Regions from separate parts of the Homo sapiens genome. Here regions 1, 2, 3 and 5 are each linked to region 4. The links are contacts of gene promoters, found by promoter capture Hi-C in blood cells and fetal thymus (Javierre and others, 2016). All regions are on one chromosome and are shown on one strand. The core of a region is centred on a gene start or on the middle of the fragment in contact, and the rest is flanking DNA. Distances in the headings are between cores, read along the strand shown. Region 1 holds the start of ZNF714 (zinc finger protein 714). Region 2 overlaps ZNF430 (zinc finger protein 430). Region 3 has its middle 72 kb from the start of ZNF431. Region 4 holds the start of ZNF100 (zinc finger protein 100). Region 5 holds the start of ZNF85 (zinc finger protein 85).

Evidence for each region. The method cuts DNA at HindIII sites, captures the fragments that hold promoters and counts their contacts. A CHiCAGO score of 5 or more calls a contact.
Region 1: a contact is called between the fragment with the promoter of ZNF714 here and the fragment with the promoter of ZNF100 in region 4, in 3 of 17 cell types (neutrophils, total CD8 T cells and fetal thymus). The highest score is 9.3, in neutrophils.
Region 2: a contact is called between a fragment that was not itself captured here and the fragment with the promoter of ZNF100 in region 4, in 1 of 17 cell types (monocytes). The highest score is 5.0, in monocytes.
Region 3: a fragment that was not itself captured here is called in contact with the fragment with the promoter of ZNF100 in region 4 in 1 of 17 cell types (neutrophils); the score reaches 6.2 in neutrophils.
Region 5: a contact is called between the fragment with the promoter of ZNF85 here and the fragment with the promoter of ZNF100 in region 4, in 1 of 17 cell types (fetal thymus). The highest score is 5.3, in fetal thymus.

The regions. Positions count from the first base shown.
Region 1 is chr19:21,080,942-21,083,641 of GRCh38, forward strand. ZNF714 (zinc finger protein 714) reads left to right here and starts at 1,262. Exons shown (of 5, transcript NM_182515.4): 1 at 1,262-1,407. RefSeq lists an enhancer at 1,601-1,750. The HindIII fragment of the contact is 3,534 bases long and covers 1-2,700 here.
Region 2 is chr19:21,047,545-21,050,244 of GRCh38, forward strand. All of the region lies in intron 4 of ZNF430 (zinc finger protein 430), which reads left to right. Among named protein-coding and RNA genes, the nearest start is that of ZNF430, 28 kb to the left of the region's middle. The HindIII fragment of the contact is 4,673 bases long and covers 1-2,700 here.
Region 3 is chr19:21,212,644-21,215,343 of GRCh38, forward strand. No RefSeq gene overlaps it. Among named protein-coding and RNA genes, the nearest start is that of ZNF431, 72 kb to the left of the region's middle. The HindIII fragment of the contact is 5,121 bases long and covers 1-2,700 here.
Region 4 is chr19:21,766,196-21,768,895 of GRCh38, forward strand. ZNF100 (zinc finger protein 100) reads right to left here and starts at 1,384. Exons shown (of 5, transcript NM_173531.4): 1 at 1,232-1,384. The coding sequence starts at 1,234. RefSeq lists a silencer at 1,371-1,548. The HindIII fragment of the contact is 10,466 bases long and covers 1-2,700 here.
Region 5 is chr19:20,921,866-20,924,565 of GRCh38, forward strand. ZNF85 (zinc finger protein 85) reads left to right here and starts at 1,386. Exons shown (of 4, transcript NM_003429.5): 1 at 1,386-1,538. The coding sequence starts at 1,536. The HindIII fragment of the contact is 9,960 bases long and covers 1-2,700 here.

The sequences.
Region 1 (2,700 bases), core at 12-2,511, 690 kb before region 4:
TTCCCTATCCTTTTTTCTTTTTTATTTATTTAAAGTTTTTTGTGTATCAGTGTAAATGCATGGGTATTTATTTATTTGACTTGATTTATTTTATAGGTCAGTGCTCTAATTATTCATTTGGATGCTAACATTGTTCCAGGATGGACCATTGGGAGTTCTTTCAGGCTGGCTCCCTTTGACATGTTCCCATCATTTTTTAAAATTAAAAAAAAAGAAAGAAAAAACATTTTGAGGCTGGGTGCGGTGGCTCACGCCTGTAATCCCAACACTTTGGGAGGCCAAAGCGGGCAGATCACCTGAGGTCAGGAGTTCAGGACCAGCCTGGCCAACATGGTGAAACCCCGTGTCTACTAAAAATACAAAAAATTAGCCGAGCATGGTGGCGCGCGCCTGTGATCTCATCCAGCAGTGCTTTACTTGTAATTATTTTATTCCTGCTGCCGTCTCCTCTTTCTTTGGCCACTATCTGTTCCACCCCCGGAACGGAAGAGAGATGTTGGTAGGGAGAGGCTCTTCCTTCACCTCTGGCAGAAAAGGTTTGCTTGGGCCCTTCACACCGCTGACATCAGAGCTGCACTTCAATGTGGCAGTTATTGGCCATGTGTGGCGCCTGGTCTGAAGTGCGATGCTAGAAAGGTAAAATACAGAGTTAGTTTCAAAGATTTAGTTCCAAATATTTATATACTTTATTAATAATTACATATTTCTCACACATTAAAATGAAAATTTTTTTGATATATTGGGTTAATTAAATTGTTACAATCAATTCAACCTGTTCTTGTTTCTTTTTCAAGTTTGGCTACTAGAAAACTTAAAATTCACATATGGCTCACATTTTATTTCAGAGGATTACCTCCTTTCTAAAATCTCAGCCTGCCTGCTCAAAGACCAGAAAGAAGCCAGGAAGGTCATAAAATCTGAAATTTTAAAATAATTGTTATTATAAAATTATATTTTTTCCTTTGTGAAGAGCCATATATTATTTATAAATGCATATGACTTTACACACAAGTTTAAAGGCAAATTCCCTCTGGGGTGGGCCTGGCTCAGCTCTGGGAGGAAGCCCTGCCTGAGAAGGCTGCAGCCTAGGCTGTCACCCTTTCTTCACTCAGCCCAGCAACTGATCACATCTTCTGTCACTCAGGGCACGAGAAGGTGGGGTTTTAAAAGTTATCCAATCAGCGACGCTGGGTTGGGAACCGTCCAATCAGGCCTGCAGCTGGAGCGGACAGGACGGCTTCGGGGATGTGGCGGGGCCTTTGTCTCTCGCTGCAGCTGGAGCTGCAGGTCTCGCCTTCACTGCCCTGTGTCCTCTGCTCGCAGAGGCCCAGCCTCTGTGGCCCTGTGACCTGCAGGTATTGAGAGATCCACAGCTAAGACGCCAGGTACCCCGGAAGCCTAGAAATGGTGAGAGTGCCGGGTCCGACATCCCGAGAGAGGGGAAGGGGCGGGTTGTAAGCGGTGGGAAGTGGCTGTGGTGGGACTTAGGCCTCCCCGCAGTCAACTCTACAATCTGCGCCCGGAGTTCTCCTTGCTCAGCTCGGCCTCAGTCCCCTTCAGCCATAAGATGGCGGCTGCGCTGACTGCGGGATCCCGGGCGTCCTGTCTTTTCCCTGCGCAGTGACTGGGCCCTGACCTGGAGTCCTCTCAGGGCAGCTCTGGACCCTCAGCGGCGCGTCTCTCCCGGATTGTGCAGGGACCACTGGAGGGTCCCAGGGGTAGAATCCTGACTCGGGGTGCGGGTTTATGAATGGGTCCGTGGGGTTCCAGTTCCTCTTCTGTTGAAAATGTATGGGAGTCACCGTTAAAACACTAAAGCATTTAATCAAAGCGTGATTCAAAAATTGTGGAGCACCCAGCTGTGGTTTGTAATTTATGGTTTATGGGCGGGGCTTGAAGTAAAGACTTTTATAAACAGCATGATGAAGAAAACCAAATTCAGTAATTGGTTAGGTTCAGATACATAGTTTCTTAATTTGTAAAATAAAGGTGAAAATTTCCTGGTTATGTAATTAGATGTTAATTGGCAGTTTATAGTTGGTTAAGGATGAATTTTGTTTCTCTCAATGTAGTAATTTACTAAAAATGCACCTCAGTTAGATTTTTTTTTTTTAAGATGGAGTTTCGCTCTTGTTGCCCAGGCTGGAGTGCAATGGGGCGATCTTGTCTCACCGTAACCTCTGCCTCCCGGGTTCAAGCGATCCAATGCTTCAGCCTCCCAGGTAGCTGGGATTACAGGCATGCGCCACCACGCCCGTCTAATTTTGTGGTTTTAGTAGAGACGGGTTTCTGCATGTTGGTCAGGCTGGTCTCGAACTCCCGACCTCAGGTGATCTGCCCTCCACGGCCTCCCCAAAGTGCTGGGATTACAGGCGTGAGCCACCGCGCCCAGCCAGATTTTTTTAAAAGTAGGAATCCAGGGACTAGAGACACCTCAGTCTAATTTCCCGCCGCTTAATTATTTTCACACTCCATGGGGAACTGATTTTCTGGTGCATTTTTCAACTGTGTCCCAAGCACTGTCTTAAATCTAACCTCCCGTCCCCCATATCTCCAGCCTCACTCTGGCTTGCAGTAAGATATTAAATTTCCAGTTCCTCCTGGCATTCCCTAATGCCAGCTTTTCCTCCCTAATTCACGTTATCACCTGTTTGTCTTTTAGTGTACTTTTGTATACCATATTTTAATTAATTATTTTTT
Region 2 (2,700 bases), core at 140-2,639, 720 kb before region 4:
TTGTTGTTGCTTTCTGTTTGTTTTTCTAACCATCAGGCCACTTTTCTGTAGCACTGTTGTGATTTGCTTGGGATCTACTTCAGACCCTATTTGCCTGGGTTTCTCTCACACCTGGAGGTGTCAACCAGTGGAGCCTGCAGAATAGCAGAGAGGACTGCTTGCTCCTTCCTCTGGGGTCTTTGTCCCAGAAGGGGAATGATCTGATGACAGTGGGAACACTACTTTATAAGTTGTCTGACGATGTCTGTTGTGGGGGTCTCACCCAGTCAGGATGCATGAGATCTGGGAACCACTTAAGAAAGCACTCTGGCTGCACCTTGGTGGAGTGGCTGTGCTGCACTGAGGGAAATTCCATACATCTGTACTGCCTGGATTGCTCAGAGCCAGCAGGGGGAAAGACTAAGTCTGCTGATCTGCAGAAACCACCTCATTGTTCCTGTTTTATGTATTTCTTGTAGATAAGTTTTTTCTCATTTCCTGTTTTACTACCTTTATTTTTGTTAACTTTATCGTTACATGCTTTGATTATTTTTTCATTTTTTGCATACTTTTTATAAATATTATGTAATCACCTTGAAGTATAATGTAATCATCTTAAAATGGAGATTACATAAAACATCTTTTTTTTTTTTTTTTTTTTTTTTTTTTTTTTAGTATTTATTGATCATTCCTGGGTGTTTCTCGCAGAGGGGGATTTGGCAGGGTCATAGGACAATAGTGGAGGGAAGGTAAGCAGATAAACAAGTGAACAAGGGTCTCTGGTTTTCCTAGGCAGAGGACCCTGCGGCCTTCCGCAGTGTTTGTGTCCCTGGGTACTTGAGATTAGGGAGTGGTGATGACTCTTAACGAGCATGCTGCCTTCAAGCATCTGTTTAACAAAGCACATCTTGCACCGCCCTTAATCCATTTAACCCTGAGTGGACACAGTACATGTTTTAGAGAGCATGGGGTTGGGGGTAAGGTTATAGATTAACAGCATCCCAAGGCAGAAGAATTTTTCTTAGTACAGAACAAAATGGAGTCTCCTATGTCTACTTCTTTCTACACAGACACAGCAACAATCTGATTTCTCTATCTTTTCCCCACATTCCCCCCTTTTCTATTCGACAAAACCGCCATCGTCATCATGGCCCGTTCTCAATGAGCTGTTGGGTACACCTCCCAGACGGGGTGGCGGCTGGGCAGAGGGGCTCCTCACTTCCCAGAAGGGGCGGCCGGGCAGAGGCGCCCCCCACCTCCCGGACGGGGCGGCTGGCCGGGCGGGTGCTGGCCCCAACCTCCCTCCTGGACGGGGTGGCTGGCCGGGCAGGGGCTGCCCCCCACCTCCCTCCCAGATGGGGCATAAAATATCTTAAAGTTAAAAAAATAAGGCCAAGCATGGTGGCTCACACCTGTAATCCCAACACTTTGGGAGGCTGAGATGGATAGATCACCTGAGGTCAGGAGTTTGAGACCAGCCTGGCCAACATGGTGAAACTGTCTCTACTAAAAATACAAAAATTAGGTATGTGGTGGAGGACATCTGAGACTGAGGCAGGATAATCACTTGAACCCAGATGACAGAGGTTGCAGTGAGCCGAGATTGCGCCACTGCACTCCAGCCTGGGTGACAGAGCAAGACTCCATCTCAAAAAAAAAAAAAAAAAAAAAAAAGTAAAAAAGATATATTTTAACTTCTTAAACTTTAATTAAATACAAAACCTATACTGCTATGTTTTCCAGTTTGTTATTGATACTACAAATTATATTATGTATCTATTAACAGATTTATATCTTGTATTTTTATATCTACAGAACTTTAACGGTTTTATGCACCATTATGATAGTAAAAAATTCTATATGTATCTGTATATTTATATTTAATAGGGAGCTTTATATATGGTTTTATGATGCTGTCTAGCATCATTTTATTTTTCAACAAAATGGATTCATTTTAGCATTTCTATTTGTTTATATGCAGAGTCTGTGTTTCTCAGACTGGATCTTGGACTCCTGGTCTCAAGAGATCTGACTGCCTTGGCTTCCTAAAGCTGTAGAATTACAGGCATGAGCCACTATGTCTGGCCACCATGTAACATTTCTTGTTACATTTCGTGCAACATTTCTTGTTACGTTTCCTGCAACATTTCTTGTTACATTTCGTGCAACATTTCTTGTTACATTTCGTGTAACATTTCTTGTTACATTTCGTGTAACATTTCTTATAGTGAACACCCTGAAATTTAATTTAGGAAAGTCTGTATTTTTATTTTGTTTTTCAAGTAAAATAACTTTGAATTAAATATTATTGGTTAGAATTTTTTATTACATCAAAATTTGGGAAGTTCTCAGCTTTCGTTTTCTTTAATTTACCTCTGTATTACTTTTTCCCTACATTATTCTTCTCTTTTTTTTTTTTGAGACAGAGTCTCTCTCTGTCACCCAGGCTGGAGTGCGGTGGCTCGATCTCAGCCTCAGCCTCCCGAGTAGCTGGGACCACAGGCGCCCACCACCACACCTGGCTAATTTTTTGTATTTTTTCAGTAGAGGCAGGGTTTCACCGTCTTAGCCAGGACGGTCTCGATCTCCTGACTGTGTGATCCGCCTGCCTCGGCCTCCCAAAGTGCTGGGATTACAGGCATGAGCCACTGTGCCCAGCCCCCCTATATTCTTCTAAGATTTATTTCATGAATATATTGATGGACTTGATGGTGTCCAATA
Region 3 (2,700 bases), core at 7-2,506, 550 kb before region 4:
CGGGGTGGCTGCCGGGCGGAGGGGCTCCTCACTTCTCAGATGGGGCGGCTGCCAGGCGGAGGGGCTCCTCACTTCTCAGATGGGGCAGCCGGGCAGAGACGATCCTCACCTCCCAGATGGGGTGGCGGTCAGGCAGAGACACTCCTCAGTTCCCAGATGGGGTCGCGGTCAGGCAGAGGCGCTCCTCACATCCCAGATGGGGCGGCAGGGCAGAGGTGCTCCCCACATCTCAGACGATGGGCGGCCGGGCAGAGACACTCCTCACTTCCTAGACGGGATGGCGGCCGGGAAGAGGCGCTCCTCACTTCCCAGACTGGGCAGCCGGTCAGAGGGGCTCCTCACATCCCAGACGATGGGTGGCCAGGCAGAGATGCTCCTCACTTCCCAGACGGGGTGGTGGCCGGGCAGAGGCTGCAATCTCAGCACATTGGGAGGCCAAGGCAGGCGGCTGGGAGGTGGAGGTTGTAGCGAGCCGAGATCACGCCACTGCACTCCAGCCTGGGCAACATTGAGCACTGAGGGAGTGAGACTCCGTCTGCAATCCTGGCACCTCGGGAGGCCGAGGCAGGCAGATCACTCGCGGTCAGGAGCTGGAGACCAGCCCGGCCAACACAGCGAAACCCCATCTCCACCAAAAAATGCAAAAACCAGTCAGGCGTGGCGGCGCGCGCCTGCAATCCCAGGCACTCGGCAGGCTGAGGCAGGAGAATCAGGCAGGGAGGTTGCAGTGAGCCGAGATGGCGGCAGTACAGTCCAGCCTCGGCTTTCACAACTTTGGTGGCATCAGAGGGAGACCGGGGAGAGGGAGACGAGGGAGAGGGAGACGAGGGAGAGGGACTAATATCACTATTTTCTGATGTCTATATTTTTTTAGAACTTTTTTATTTTTACAAATGTCTCCACAAATTCTAGGATATTTTATAAAATAGCAGAATACTAAAGAAATGGGTGGTTTGCCATACTATATGAATACTGGTATTCAATTAAAATAACAATATTTTCATCAAAATTTAGACAGTAGATTTAAATTTCTTGATTTTTCACTACAGTGATAGACATTCATAAATATTTCAGAAATCAGAGCTGTATTAGGTTTTACTTAGTAGTAATATGTATAAAAGATCAAGAATCTGTTCAAAATAGATATTTCTCATCAATAATTTGATGCTTTCAAATACCCAGAAGTTTTGTTTTAATCAGATGAAGTCTGAGGATAGTTTACTAGTTTTATTTTTTGTATGATGTGTTCACAATTTTCTAATTTAACCTAATATTGATAATGGTATACAAATCAACTTTTTTTTCAAATCTCATAAGTCTATTTATTATGTTGTTGAAGATATTTTTAGTTAACATTCCTTCTTTCAGTATTTTTTACAGGAATTTACATCTAGTCAAATTTGCTTAAACTGTTAATCAGTGTCAGGTGCCAGATTCCAATTCATTTTTAGTGTGCCTGTACTTTTCTTTCTATAACCTCTGAACTAAATTTATATTGCTTAATTAAATGTGATATAATACAACTCACATATTTAAAACAAAACCACCAGGTAAAATGAATTCTGGCTTAGTATAAAGAAGCTGTTACCAAATTAGTGTCACATATACAGATGGATGTGGCTCAACAAAATTTTACACAAAAATATTTGGATTGAACTACACGTGTTGCCATGACTTAGCCTCTAATGACCTTATAAATAAAGACAAATTAATACACATTTATTCATTTTCTTTCATTGTGTCTAAAGGTAGCATGTCAGGAAATCTCATGCTACTGTCTGAAAAAACACATTCTACTGTTACCTAAGAAATCAACTGGATGGCATTTTTATAACCTTGCACCACATAAGGAAAAACTGCAATGTAGTCTGATAAATGCAGACTCCATCACATGGAAAAGGATAATCCAGAATGCCACTTTCAATACTTAAGTATTCAACCTTTTGGTTGAAAAATGTAGTAAAATAGAGCTCTTGGTAAGTTTTGTGTAGCTTAACATCAGCATAAATTAGGAAAAAATATCTTTTAAAATGTAAACAAACAAAAACCTACACCAAAAACAAAAACATTCACCAATGCATACATATTGACTGACGCTCCAGGGACATAAAATAATTTTTCCTGGGTACACAGCTAGTGACCCAAATCAAGCTCAAATGTGTGATTTTAAAAATTTCATTTTCCCACTTTTGACAATATTGACATAACAGCGAAATCTTACTCTCAGAGTTGATAGTTGAAAATAAACTAAGACAAGTACTGTTGAGGGAGGCTAGGTAGCCAAGAAGGTCACCATGTCCTTGGGACATGCAGCAGGCATGGCGATTGCATAGTGACAGCATATTGGCAACACAATAAGCCCCAACATTTGCATTGTATTTCAGCTCACTGAAGCACAGCTCTCTTCAGTAGGGAAGAGAGTTCTTTACTCCCCTGTAAAGAACATGCACATTTTGATTTTACTTGTCCTCTGACCTTTTACTCATTATAATAGTAAAAAACACACAAGTGAGTGGAGATTAAAGATGCTAATAAGATATGTGACACATAAGCATGTACAGCCACTGTGTATGTACACCAACAAGACCACTCAGAACATGCTAACTAATAACACCACTTTCCACCTCTTCATAAATAATGATCTAAGACTCCCATAGATGGAGTCTCTCTAGTTCCAGTCTTTGCTGTCTCATTCTTATA
Region 4 (2,700 bases), core at 134-2,633:
AGGAAAAGTTGACATTTGGGAACGCCAGAAGAAATTGGAAATTTAGTATCTTACTGCAAGCCAGAGTGAGGCTGGAGAAATGGGGGACGGGGGTTAGACTTAACAACCTGCTTGGGACACAGGTGAAAAATGCAGCAGAAAATCAGTTCCCCGTGGAGTGTGAAAATAATTAAGAGACAGGCAATTCCACTGAGGTGTCTCTAGTCCCTGGGTTCCTACTTAAAAAAAAAAAAAATCTAACTCAGGTGCATTTTTTTTTTAATTACTACATTCAGAGAAAATGTAGGCTTAAACAACTATAAACTGTTAATTAACCTCTGATTACACAACCAGGAAATCTTCACCTGTATTGTACAAATCAAGAAACTACGTTACTGTAACCAATTACTAAATTTAGTTTTCTTCATCATACATTTTATAAATGACTTTCCTTCAAGCCTCTCCCATAGACAACAAACTACAAACCATAGCTGGATACTCTATGATTCTTGAATCACTGTTTGATTAAATTCTTTAGGCCAGGCGCGGTGGCTCACGCCTGTAATCCCAGCACTTTAGGAGGCCAAGGCGGGCGGATCACGAGGTCAGGAGTTCAAGACCAGCCTGGCCAACGAGGTGAAACCCCGTCCCAACTAAAAATACAAAAAAATAAGGCCGGCCCAGTGACAGGCGCCTGTAATCCCAGTTACTCGGGAGGCTGAGCCAGGAGAATCTCCAGAACCCGGGAGGCGGAGGTTGCAGTGAGGGGAGATCGCGCCACTAAACCCTAGCCTGGGCGACAGAGCGACTCCGTCTCAAACAAACAAAAAAATCGTTAATATTTGTGCAGTGACTCCCATACATTTTTAATAGGAGAAAAGAGGAACTGGGAAAGCCACGGACCAAAGATCTTCCCATTCATGAACCCGCACCCCGAGTCAGGATTTTCCCCTGACGACCCTCCCGTGGTCCCTGCACAATCTGAGAGAGACGCGGCGCTGCGGGTGCAGAGCTGCCAAGAGAGGGCTCCAGGCCAAGGCACAGTCACTACGCAGGGAAGAGAAAGGACGCCTGGGGTCCTGGCTGTCAGCGCAGCCGCCATCTTATGGCCGAAGGGGACGGAGGCCGAGCTGGGCAAGGCGCAGATTGTGAAGCTGACTGCGGAGAGGCCTGAGTCCCGCCACAGCTACTTCCCACCAGTTCCAACCAGCCCTTTCGCCGTCTCTCGGGATGTCGGACCGGGCACTCTCACCATTTCTAGGCTTCTAGGGGGTCCTGGCGTCTTAGCTGTGGATCTCCCAATATCTGCAGGTCAGAGGGCCACACAGGCTAGGCCCCTAGGAGCAGAAGACACAGAGAAGTGAGAGCAAAACCTGGAGCTCCGGCTACAGCGAGAGACAAAGACCCCGCCAAACCCGGAAGCCGTCCAGTCCGCTCCAGCTGCATGCCTGATTGGACGGTTTCCAGCCCAGCGTCCCTGGTTGGATAATGCTTAAATCCCCGCCCTGTCAGGCTTTGAGTGACAGAAGATGTGATCAGATGCGGGTTCAATGAAGAAAGAGTGACAGCCTAGACTGCCCCCTCTTCTGACAGGGCTTCCTCCCTCAGCTGAGCTAGGCCCATCCCAGAGAGTATTTGCCTTTAAATTTGTGTATAAGGTCATATGTATAAATAAATAATACATTATATAGCTATACACAAGTGAAAAGAATATAACAATTATTTTAAAATTTCAGCTTTTATGACCTTCCTGGCTTCTGGCCCTTTGAGCAGGCAGCCTGAGATTTTAGAAAAGAGAAAATCATCTAAAATGAATGTCAGCCACATGTGGATTTGAAATTTTCTAGTAGCCAAACTTTAAAAAGAAACAAGTTGAACTGATTGTTAACAATGTAATTCACCCATTATATTCAAAATATTATCATTTTAATGTGTGAGAAATATGTAATTATTGATAAAATATATAAATATTTGGAACTAAATCTTTGAAGCTGACTTTGTATTTTACCTTTCTAGCATATCGCATTTCAGACCAGGCACATTGTGGGAACCCAGTAGCCACACATGGACAATAGCTGTCACATTGAAGTGCAGCTCTGATGTCAGCGGTGTGAAGGGCCTGAACATCTCTTTCCTGCGAGAGTGAAAGAAGAGACTCTCCCTACAAACATCTCTCTTTGGTTCCTAGGGTGGACCAGATAGTTCCCATAGAAAGAGCTGAGGGCAGTAGGAATAAAATAGCCACAGGTAATAAACAACTGCTGGCCACCTGTTGCCCACCTTTCTTTTAGAGACCAGATAGTGAACAAAGGATGATGGGGCCACAGGAGAAAAAACAACTATGTCTTCAGTTCTGTCCACACACTTGAACTCCAGTATTTAGAGATGGAGAAAATAGATTAAAAACAAACATAGTTTGCTATATGGTCTTGGCCCTAACAATCAGGCTGTGTTTATCTGTTTTCTCCTGTGGTGTGGGGGACTATGTGAGTCTAAGCACCAATCACACGCATACATGTCTACAGGTATTTCTGCATTACCCAAAATTCTCTTACAAAACATCGAACTTTAAATCAGGGGAAGAAATCAGTACCTAGAGGGTGTCCACTGTTAGAAGCCAACTCTTAGTCAACCTGTCACTGAATCCTGGCAACTTATCTGTACTGGGTGCATGTATTAGTTAGCTATTGAGGCATAACAAATCATCCAAAACTTATTAGT
Region 5 (2,700 bases), core at 136-2,635, 840 kb before region 4:
CCTATAATCCCAGCACTTTAGGAGGCCAAGGCGGTTGGATCACCTAAGGTCAGGAGTTCAAGACCAGCCTGACCAACATGGAGAAATCCCGTCTCTACTAAAAGTACAAAAAATTAGCCGGGCGTGGTAGTGCATGCCTGTAATCCCAGCTACTCGGGAGGCTGAGGTAGGAGAATTGCTTGAACCCAGGAGGCAGAGGTTGCAGTGAGCCAAGACCACACCATTGCGCTTTAGCCTGGGCAACAAGAGTGAAACTCCATCTCAAAAAAAAGAAATGCCGAAATACATGTGGACATGTATGCATGTGATTGTGCTTATATTCACTCAGTTTCCCACACCACAGAAGAAAACAGGTAACCACAGCCTGAACATTAGAGTCGAGGTCAAATAGCAAAATAAGTTTGCCTTTAATCTATTTTCTTCCTATGTAAACATTAAAGGTCAAGACTGTGAACAGATCTGAAGACATAGTTTTTTTTCTCCTGTGGCCCATCATCCTTTGCTCACTGTCTGATCTCTGAAAGAAAGATGGGCAACAGGTGGTAAGCAGTGGTTTACCTGTGATTTATTCCTGCTGCCATCAGCTTTTTCTATAGCCACTATTTGTTTCACCCTCGGAACTGAAAAGAGACGTTGATAAATAGAGGCTGTCCCCTCACCTGTGGCAGAAAAGGGGTGTTCAGGCCCTCCACCCCCACTGACATCACAGCTGTACTTCAATGTGGCAGCTATTGGCCATGTGTGGCTCCTGGGTGCCTGGAATGTGGCTGGTCTGAACTGCGATGTGCTAGAAAGGTAAAATACAGAATTAGTTTCAAAGATTTTGTTTCAAATGTATTTATATTTCATTAATAATTACATATTGCTCACATATTAAAATGAAAATATTTTGAATATATTGGGTTAAATAAATTGCTACAATCAATTCCACTTGTTTCTTCTTTCTTTTTAAAGTTTGGCTACTAGAAAATTTAAAATTCACCTGTGACTCACATTTTATTTCAGAGGATTGCCTGTTCAAAGGACCAGAATACAGGAAGGTCATAAAATCTAAAATTTTAGAACAATTGTTGTTATACTTTGTTCATTTGTGAATAGCCATATAATATATTATTTTTGAATGCATATAAATTGATACACAAGGTAAGGGCAAATACTCTCTGGTGTGAGCCTGGCTCAGCTCAGGAAGGAAGCCCTGTCTGAAAAGGCTGCAGCCTAGGCTGTCACTCGCTCTTCTTTCAGCCCAGCATCTGATCACATCTTCTGTCACTCAGGGCCTGAAAAGAAGGTGCCTTAAATATCATCCAATCAGAGACGCTGGGCTGGGAACCGTCCAATCAGGAACGCAGCTGGTGCGGATAGGGCGGCTTCCGGGATGTGGCGGGGCCTTTGTCTCTCGCTGCAGCCTGAGCTCTAGGTCTTGTTTTCCCTGCTTTGTGTTTTCTGCTCGTGGACGCCCAGCCTCTGTGGCCCTGTGGCCTGCAGGTATTGGGAGATCCACAGCTAAGACGCCGGGACCCCCTGGAAGCCTAGAAATGGTGAGAGTGCCAGGTCCGCCATCCCGAGGGGGAAAGGGGTTGGTTGAAACCGGTGGGAAGCGGCTGTGGCGGGACTCAGGCCTCCCTGTAGTCAGCTCCACAATCTGCGCTCCAGTTCTTTTTGCCCAGCTCGGCCCCAGTTCCTCCAGCCATAAGATGGCGGCTGCGCTGACAGCCGGCCCGGGCGTCCTGTCTCTTCCCTGCGCAGTGACTGTGCCCTGGACTGGAGCCCTCTCTGGGCAGCTCTGCATTCGCAGCACCGCGTCTCTCCCAGATTGAGCAGGGACCACGGGAGGGTTGTCAGGGGAGAATCCTGACTCGGGGTGCGGGTTCATGAAAGAGCTTTGGGCTGTGGGGTTCCCAGTTCCTCTTTTTTTCTGTTAAAAATGTATGGGGGGACGGGCGTGGTGGCTCACGCCTGTAATTTCAGCACTTTGGGAAGCCGAGGCGGGCGGATCATCTGAGGTCAGGAGTTCAAGACCATCCTGGCCAACATGGTGAAACCCCGTCTCAATTTTTAAAAATACAAAAATTAGCCGGGCGTCGTGGCGCGCGCCTGCAATCCCAGCTACTCAGGAGTTTGAGGCAGGAGAATCGCTTGAACCCGGGAGGCGGAGGTTGCAGTGAGCCTACATCGCGCCACTGCACTCCAGCCTGGGCAATAAGAGTGAAACTCCGTCTCAAAAAAAAAAAAAAAAGATGTATAGGAGTCACCGCAAAAATATTAAAGAACTTAAAAAGTGGTTCAAGTATTGTAGAGCACTCAGCTATGGTTTGTAGTTTGTGGTCCATGGGAGGAGCTTGAATAAAAGACTTTTATAAGGTGCATGATAAAAAAATCAAATTAGTAATTGGTTAGGTACAGTTATATAGTCTCTTAATTTGTACGATCGTGTTGGCAATTTTCTGGTTATGTGATCAGAATTTAATTGGCAGTTTATAGTTGGTTAAGCCTGAATTTTGTTTTCCCCGATGTGGTAATTTACTAAAAAATGAAATTTTAGTTAGATTTTTTTAAAAAGGAGGACCCCAGGGACTAGAGCCACCTCAGTCTAATTGCCTGCCACTGAATCATTTTCACAGTCCACAGGGGACTTCTTTTCCCCTGCATTTTTCACATATGTCTCAAGCAGGGTCTCAAGTCTACTTCTTACTCCCTGTT